2 separate regions of the Homo sapiens genome follow, and region 1 is linked to region 2. The links are contacts of gene promoters, found by promoter capture Hi-C in human tissues and cell types (Jung and others, 2019). All regions are on one chromosome and are shown on one strand. Each heading gives the region's core, a stretch centred on a gene start or on the middle of the fragment in contact. The rest is flanking DNA. Distances are from core to core; before and after follow the strand shown.

Evidence for each region. Contacts are between HindIII fragments. The study calls those that stand out against the background at their distance.
Region 1: a contact is called between a fragment that was not itself captured here and the fragment with the promoter of OSTC in region 2, in 1 of the 25 tissues and cell types used here (dorsolateral prefrontal cortex).

The regions. Positions count from the first base shown.
Region 1 is chr4:109,310,613-109,314,677 of GRCh38, forward strand. COL25A1-DT (COL25A1 divergent transcript) reads left to right here. Exons shown (of 3, transcript NR_160939.1): 2 at 2,731-2,829; 3 at 3,965-4,065. Among named protein-coding and RNA genes, the nearest start is that of COL25A1-DT, 9.6 kb to the left of the region's middle. The HindIII fragment of the contact is 4,157 bases long and covers 1-4,065 here.
Region 2 is chr4:108,648,593-108,652,562 of GRCh38, forward strand. OSTC (oligosaccharyltransferase complex non-catalytic subunit) reads left to right here and starts at 2,007. Exons shown (of 4, transcript NM_021227.4): 1 at 2,007-2,202. The coding sequence starts at 2,064. It also overlaps the pseudogene RNU6-431P. RefSeq lists enhancers at 1,947-2,296, 2,911-2,960. The HindIII fragment of the contact is 8,012 bases long and covers 1-3,970 here.

The DNA.
Region 1 (4,065 bases), core at 738-3,237, 660 kb after region 2:
TCTTTAGACAGTAATTTAACTCTTTCAACCAATTGGCAGTCAGAAAATCATTGAATTCACCTATGACCTGGAAGCCCCTGCTTTGAGTTGTCCCACCTTTTCAGACCAAACCAATGTACATCTTACACGTATTGATTGATGTCTTACGTCTCCCTAAAGTGTATAAATCTAAGCTGTAGCCTGATCATCTCAGGCACATGTTCTTAGGACTCCTTGGGAATGTGCCCCAGGCTATTAGTCGCTCATATTTGGTGCAGAATCAAACTCTTCTTATATTTTACAGAGTTTGACTCTTTTCATTGACATGAGAAAAAAATTAATGGTGTTCATCCCCTAATTGAAAAGGACCAACAATTAAGAACAGAGACAATAGCCAACATCATAGACATTGCGATTGATTTGGCTTACACAATCTGACGGTAAAATTAAAGTTGAGAAAATTTTCCACTCAGTGAGTGCCAAAACCACTGCACCCAGATTAGCTGCCAACAGTAGCAAAGCTTTCAATGAAAATGTTAAACAAGTGGGATCAAGATCCTGAAGCATTTCTTTGAAGAACTGTAACAGGAGATGAAACATGGCTTTACCGGTATGCTCCTGAAGACAAAGCACAATCAAAGCAATGGCTACCAAGAGGTGGACGTGGTCCAGTCAAAGCAAAAGCAGCCCAGTCAAAAGCAAAGGTCATGGCAACAATTTTTAGGGATGCTCAAGGCATTTTGCTTGTTGACTTTCTGAAGGGCCAAAGAATTATAATATCTGCTTATTATGAGAATGTTTTGAGAAACTTAGCCAAAGCTTTAGCAGAAAGATGCCCAGGAAAGCTTCACCAGAGAGTTCTGCACCATGGCAATGCTCCCGTTTATTCTTTTCTCATTTAACAAGGGCAAATTGGGAAGAGTTTCTACAGTCCTGATTTGTCTCCTTCTGACTTCTCTTTGTTTCCTAATCTTTAAAAAATCTTTAAGGGACACTCATTTTTCTTTAGGTAATAATGTTAAAAAAGACTGCATTGACATGGTTAAATTCCCAAGACCCTCAGTTCTTTAGGAATGCACTAAAGAAAGGTCTGGATGATTGATGACAAAAGTGTCTAGAACTTGATGGAGCTTAATTTGAGAAATAAAGTTTATATTTTTTATTTTTACCTTTTAATTCCATTATTCCGTGAACTTTTTGAAGATCCCTTGCATAAAGCATTTAAAAGATAATAAAGGAGAATGTAATCATGACCTTGGATTGAGGCAGGGTTTTCTAAATAATATACGTAAAGAGCTAGCCACAGAGGAAATGATTGATAAATTGGAATATATTAAATCAAGATCTTCTGTTTATTAAAAAAACTTAAAATGATTGAAATACAAGACAAAGAATGAGAAAAGATATTTGCAAAATATAGAAATGAGAAAAGACTATTATCTAGAATGTATAAGAATTCTTGCAAATCAATGCGAAAAAGCATCAGACAACCTAATAAAAAAAATTAGCAAAAGCTTAAATAAGCACTTTTATAAGTGAAAAATAAAAAACAGCCAATAAACATTTTTAACTTTTATTTTAAGTTCAGGGGTACATGTGCAGGTTTGTTACATAGGTAAACTATGTCACAGGAGTTTATTGTAAAGATTATCTCATCACCCAGGTATTAAGCCTAATGTCCATTAGTATTTTTCCAAATCCTCTCCTCCATCCCACCCTCCACCCTCTAGTAGGCCTCAATGTGTGTTGTTCCACGCTATATGTCCTATACTCTCATTATTTAGCTCCCAGTTATGAGTGAGAACAGGCAGCATTTGATTTTTTGTTCCCATATTAGTTTACTAAGGTTAGGCATCCAACTCCATCCATGTCCCTGCAAAGGACATGATCTCATTCTTTTTTGTGGCTGAATAGTATTCCATGGTGTATTTGTATCATGTTTTCTTTATCCAGTCTATCATTGATGGGCATTTAAGTTGATTCCATGTCTTTGCTATTGTGAATAGTGCTGCAATTAACATACACATGAATTTTTTTATAATAGAACAATATATATTTCTGTAGTTATATACCCAGTAATGGGATTACTCGGTCAAATGGTATTTCTGTCTTTAGGTGTTTGAGGAATCACCACACTGTCTCCCACAATGGTTGAACTAATTTACACTCCCAACAACAGTGTATTAATGTTCCTTTTTCTCCACAACCTTGGCTGTGATAGCCACAGGAGATAGACAAATTTCTAGGCAGACAGGATGGGTCCTTGGTGAAACTCAACCTTCAAGCCAAAGACAGTCTAAAGCCTGAAAACTGAGCTACTAATTCAGGATAGAAGCCACAGATCTGAGTGAGAACTTCCATCCCCACCTTATCCACTGTCTCTCAATAGGTTCTTTCTGAATGATGCCTTTTAACCAATTGAATGGTGTCTTTTCCAAGCCCACCCATAAACCAATCAGCACACGTTCCCCTATTCTAAGCCCATAAAAACCCTGGACTCAGCCTCACTGATGGCAGTCTACTTTTGGGTCCCCTCTTGCTGAGGGCTTTCTTTCTGTCACTCAATAAAATTCAACTCTGCCTTACTCACTCTCCAATGTCCATGTACCTCACTCCTCTTGGTCATTAGACAAGAACTCAGAACTCACCAAACTGCAGGAGTGAAAGAGCAGTAACGCTCCCTCCCACTCGCTGAACTACGGGAGTAAAGAAGTTGATTGGTGCCACTCTCTCCCTCTCGCCAAACTACAGGAGTGAAGAAGCCACTGGGAGCCACTCCCTCTCACTCACCGAACTATGGGAGTAAAGAAGCTGCAACATTTCTGGAGGCTCGTCCAGGTCTTCAGAAGGGTGAGTAAGAGCAGACCTGTGACCCTTTACTTTCATTTCTGAGGACTCTCATCCTCACTTTTTTTTCGAAAACAGATAAAACACCAAGTCTCTGTTAGACAGTTAAGGGTGAATAGACCAACTGCCAATCTACAAGACTCAGAGGACAGACTTGCTCGGGAGGACATTGTCAGTCCCCCTTCATCCTTGGGTGTTGGGAATGTTGGCCTTGTTCCAATCCAGTTTCCTTTCCTGGAAGTCTAGCCATTACGTAGGTTGGAATAAAGTCCTGAACAACTGAAGGTATCTGGCCAAGGCACACTTTGGTGTTACCTGAAGACTCCTGGACCAGCTCCAATCCCCCACAGCCCATTCAGGTGCCAGGCCAAGGCTTTCAGTCCTTCCTATCTAATTTTCTTTCTTTCAAGAGTGTCCTGACTGCTATCCCCTATTTATAGACAATGTTACCGGTGTTTTTGCAACGAAAAGAGATACTATTACTGGATAGAATGAGGACTTGGCTTAGTCATCAGGAGTGTAATCCAGAACAATGTTGCTTCTGTCTATTCTTAGAAATAGAGGGATGTAACAATTAAGAGAGTTTTCTTTCCCCTGTTGAAGAAACTCATTACCACAGAACAAGAGGCTATTTCCCCCAGCCACCTTCCCTCCTCTGCATTTAAATTGCTTTTTTCCACCCTGTCAGAGTCAACATAATCCTGCGAATACAAGGAGCTTTTCCATGCAAGGGATTAATGTTTTCCTTTTGGGAGGCATCTTATTAGGCCAGGTCCCCAATTCCCAGGATTCCCTTTCTTTCCTTTGTTTGAGGAGGATCTGGTTCCACACCTTCACCTTAGTATTACTCCATTGTATTTTCCAAGCTTCGATTTGGAGCCCTATAAAGAAAACTAGATTTGAGGGACCAAGAGGCAGTCAACAGCAAAAGGCTAGGGCACAGCACAGGTAAGAATGACTATCCCTGCCAATTAGGCCTTCCCACTTCATGGGTGGAGGTGATGTTCATATCCATGATGTAGACACCACCAGCCCATCCATGGCACCAGTACTAGGTGCTGAGATTCAGGGGGTGACTCAAATTCAAGAGGATAGAGAAGAGTCTAAAGGATACCTTTTCTCCCCTCTCTCTTTTCAGATGGGTAACAAACTATTTTCAGCCTGCACTCCTCTAGAGTGCATCCTGAATCACTGGGAATCCTTTGACCTGCAGATTCTGAAGAGAAAATGCTGTATATT
Region 2 (3,970 bases), core at 757-3,256:
GGAGCAAACTTACTTTTTGGAAAGTGATAGTAATAATTTAACATATAGATGAATGCAGTGTGTTCTGACTTGGCAGTTTTATTATTTATGAAATTAATTTTTCATTTAAAAATTATATATTAATAATTTATATGTTTTCCACAATGTAGGTAGAAATTATGTGTCCCTAGTATACACAGGAAGAAGGATAAGTATATAAACGTATACCATTTTAAACGTCTTAAATCTATTTACTTCTACAGCAATTGCCTTTTAGGTCTCATCCAGTCACAGACTATACTACACTTTTTGAGTTTATTTCCCTTCCCAGGAGCCACTTTTGTCATATGTAAAGCAGTTATACTAGTATTTACCTAACAGAATTGTCATGAAGAGTATATAAGCACAAATGTAAATCACTTAACATAGTACCTGCCAAGCAGTGGTTAATTAATGTTAGATTCCTTTTTAAGCTATAAAGGAAATTTAAAAACCTTTAATCCCTATGTTTTTCCAAAGCAAAATGTTTTATTTTTATTTTTTTCTTCATACCAAAGCAAAATATTTTAATTGTTCCAAAGTGTTCCTTACTTATAAAACTGTGGGAATTTCAGAAACATTCTGCTTTACAGTGCCCAGAGAAACTTCCTACATATAAACGCTGGTTTTGGTGTAAATGCATTCATTATTGGTGTTATCATTGGCCTTTACATAACCTAAGATTCGTGTGGCTCCGTTAAGACATAGGCAATATGACTCTGGGAGAGACTCTCACTAATGAACAGTAAGGGCAGCAAGCCTCAACTGTACTTAGAATTGGATACTACAATGTTTTGATAGTATTTTCATTACCGTCTTCAAGCAATTTCTTAACAATTGAGTTGTTAGCTAATTAGAAGTGCAGAACCAATACATGGCATCCTGTAAAAATAACCACGGGCTTAGTAACAAGCAAATAAAAAAATATAAAAACATTGGCTCTATAATGTGTCAATATGCTCTGGACTTATGTAATCAGTGACTCTTAACTCTTGCTCCAAAAGGAAGTTAACATTTGTAGAGTCTTAAAAGATTATATAAAAAAGAAAAGCAAAACAGAAAACAAAAAATCTTTTAGACCTTCTAGTCCATCCCTAATGACTAATTCTCCATCATATATTTTCATCTATTTGGATTGTAAATGTTGCCCAGACCAGAGATGGCGGTGGTTCACACTAGGGTGTCAGTGGTGGAATGGTGAGGGGCAGATGAATTGGAGATATTTTGGTAGTACAGCCAAAGAGACCTACTAATATTTTGGATGCAGAAGGTTAGTAAGGAGAGAAATCCAGACGACTTTAAGATTTTTGGCCAGAGGGATTTTACCTTTTAGCGACATACAGATGACCAAGGGAAGAGCAAAGTTGAGAGGATGAGTTATTCAAAATAGTATTATGGTCACGCCAAGCTATCAGCATTAAGGCATCCCTGTAGAGATGTCCTGTTGACATTTGTGATCCAGGCTGGATGTTTAAAAAAAATTGGTAACATATTACTTTAGCAACTATTATTAATTCTTATTATTACCACGACTACATCGGGAAGTAAAAGCTCAGCAGCCTCCGGCTTTTCCTAACCCTTGAAAAAACCTCTAATATAAAAGGCATTTATATCCAAAAGTTCCCATTCATCTCCCGCTCTGGGAACCGGGAGCGCCCCCTGTCCAATCAGCTTTCAAATCCCCTGCGTCAGCGAGTGGGCGGGGCTCACCTAGATTCCTTGGCCTCCGCTTCTCCGGCTTGGCCACGTTAGAAGTCCCGCAGGTCCTTGAAGGTACACAAATCACCTATATATCCATTAGAAAAATGTAGAGTACATTATCACAATGTAAGTTTAATTAGATTAAATAATTTACAACACTTTATTCATATCATTTATTTGTTTTATTTAGTTTCTTATTTTCTTCTATGAGTATAGTAACCACCTCCGAGCTTTACGGATCTGCGGGTCCTTTCCTCGCGCACGCGCACTTGTTAGGGAGGGCGGGCCTGTTTCCGGGAGGCGCGTGGGGCTTGAGGCCGAGAACGGCCCTTGCTGCCACCAACATGGAGACTTTGTACCGTGTCCCGTTCTTAGTGCTCGAATGTCCCAACCTGAAGCTGAAGAAGCCGCCCTGGTTGCACATGCCGTCGGCCATGACTGTGTATGCTCTGGTGGTGGTGTCTTACTTCCTCATCACCGGAGGTAACTCGGGCTGTCGGGCCCGAGAGGCTGAGGAGCGGAGAACTGACCCGCCCCGGGAGGCGCGTCTGTTCCGCTGACTCTCAGCCCCGGGGGAAGCATAGCTCTGCTTTGGATCTTTTCTGAGGGTGGAGGGGAGTTCTGGGGTCCGAAGTGTTAACGTCCAAGTTTATTCGCCTTCACGCCCTGTCTTAAGAGAATTCGTGTTCTCACTCCCATTGCCTTTCTTCTCCTTCTAGCCCTCCCATCCCAGGGATCCGAGTCAAATATATTTTTCAAGGCCAAATTGTTGCTCTTTTTGTTGCTTGCCATACGTTGTTTGATAAATGTCCTGGGAAAGCCTAATTTGGCAAACTCCGTTTCCATGGTTGGTTGTTTGATAAAGGTCCTGGGAAGGTCTAATTTGGCCAACTCCGCTTCCATGGTTGGTCAAGAGCTTGTGGGACTTTTAAACTTATCTTTGTCCTGGAATCTTGGAAGAGACTTGACAATCTTTAGTTTTGTTGGCTCAAACCTAGGGTTCTGTGTTGCCTTTTGCATGACCTACAATAAATATCAATGGAATTTTCTGAAATCACAGGTTTGATAAATATTTGAGATTGGAGATGAGATTTGCAGACGATACTGTATTTCAGTGGGCAGAAGTTGAGAATTAAAAAAATAAGATAAATAGCATTACTATTAAACGCTTCTGAATTGTCTATCATCTTATTCTGTCCTTTTCAAATAGAAAATTGCAAAGGGGCGTTGCCTTATGTACTGGTGAGTTGGCAATCCGGCTAGTCTTTTCAGAGCCACTACCCTTTCAGGCCACAGTTCCAAGATTTACTTAGAACTGTGCTACTGTGTACATTTAGATTTGGGGAAGTGGTGTACTTAACTTGGAAATTATAAAATTAATTTAGATTTTGGGAAGTGGTGTACTTAACCTGGAAATTATAAAATTAAAGCTACGGATTTGGGATAGCAAAAGTAGTTCTACTTTTAAGGGAGTGGCCATATAATTGTTATTTTCATAGATGTTTTGTGAGAATAGTTGGCACTGAAGGGGGAGGATTCAAACTGAGAGAGCTGAGTTCTAGAAAGCACCTTTGAATTTACCTCCTTCCCCCAATCTAGAATAGTGAGAATTAACTTACGTTCATTTAAATAAATTACATTTAAATATTTGAGTTACATTTAAATACTTATTTGGTAACAAGATACTATCTAGCATTGCATTAGCATTAACCATTAACATTTGCTCATCAAGTTAATAGCTACTGTACTGAATAAACAAAATTTAAAATGCATGTGGCTTTTAAAAATAATAGACTTTTAAAAATAAATAATATAGAATAATTCAGTATTATTATTGAGTGCTCGCTTCGGCAGCACATATACTAAAATTGGAATGATAGGGAGAAGATTACCATGGCCCCTGTGCAAGAATGACTCGCAAATTCGTGAAGCGTTCCATATTTTTGCACAGTTCACGAAGGTCGTTGGACAAAAAAAAAGTCATTATTCAATAATAATAATGAATAATGCTAGTTTCTTTCCTGTAACCCTTACTTCCCTTGGAGTCGGATTCTTTGCGAGAAGCCTCAGTTTTCTTTGTGGCCCTCTTTTTTCTCCTGTTGATTATTGTAATGGGGAGATTCTTTGTCCCAACCATTGGGGGAAAGTGGAAAGGTTGCTTTTTAGTGGCCAGGTCTATGAGGTATCTTGTATGATGAATTGGTTTTGCCACTGGAAGGGAAGAAGTCTCTTCTAAAAACTGAGTGCACCT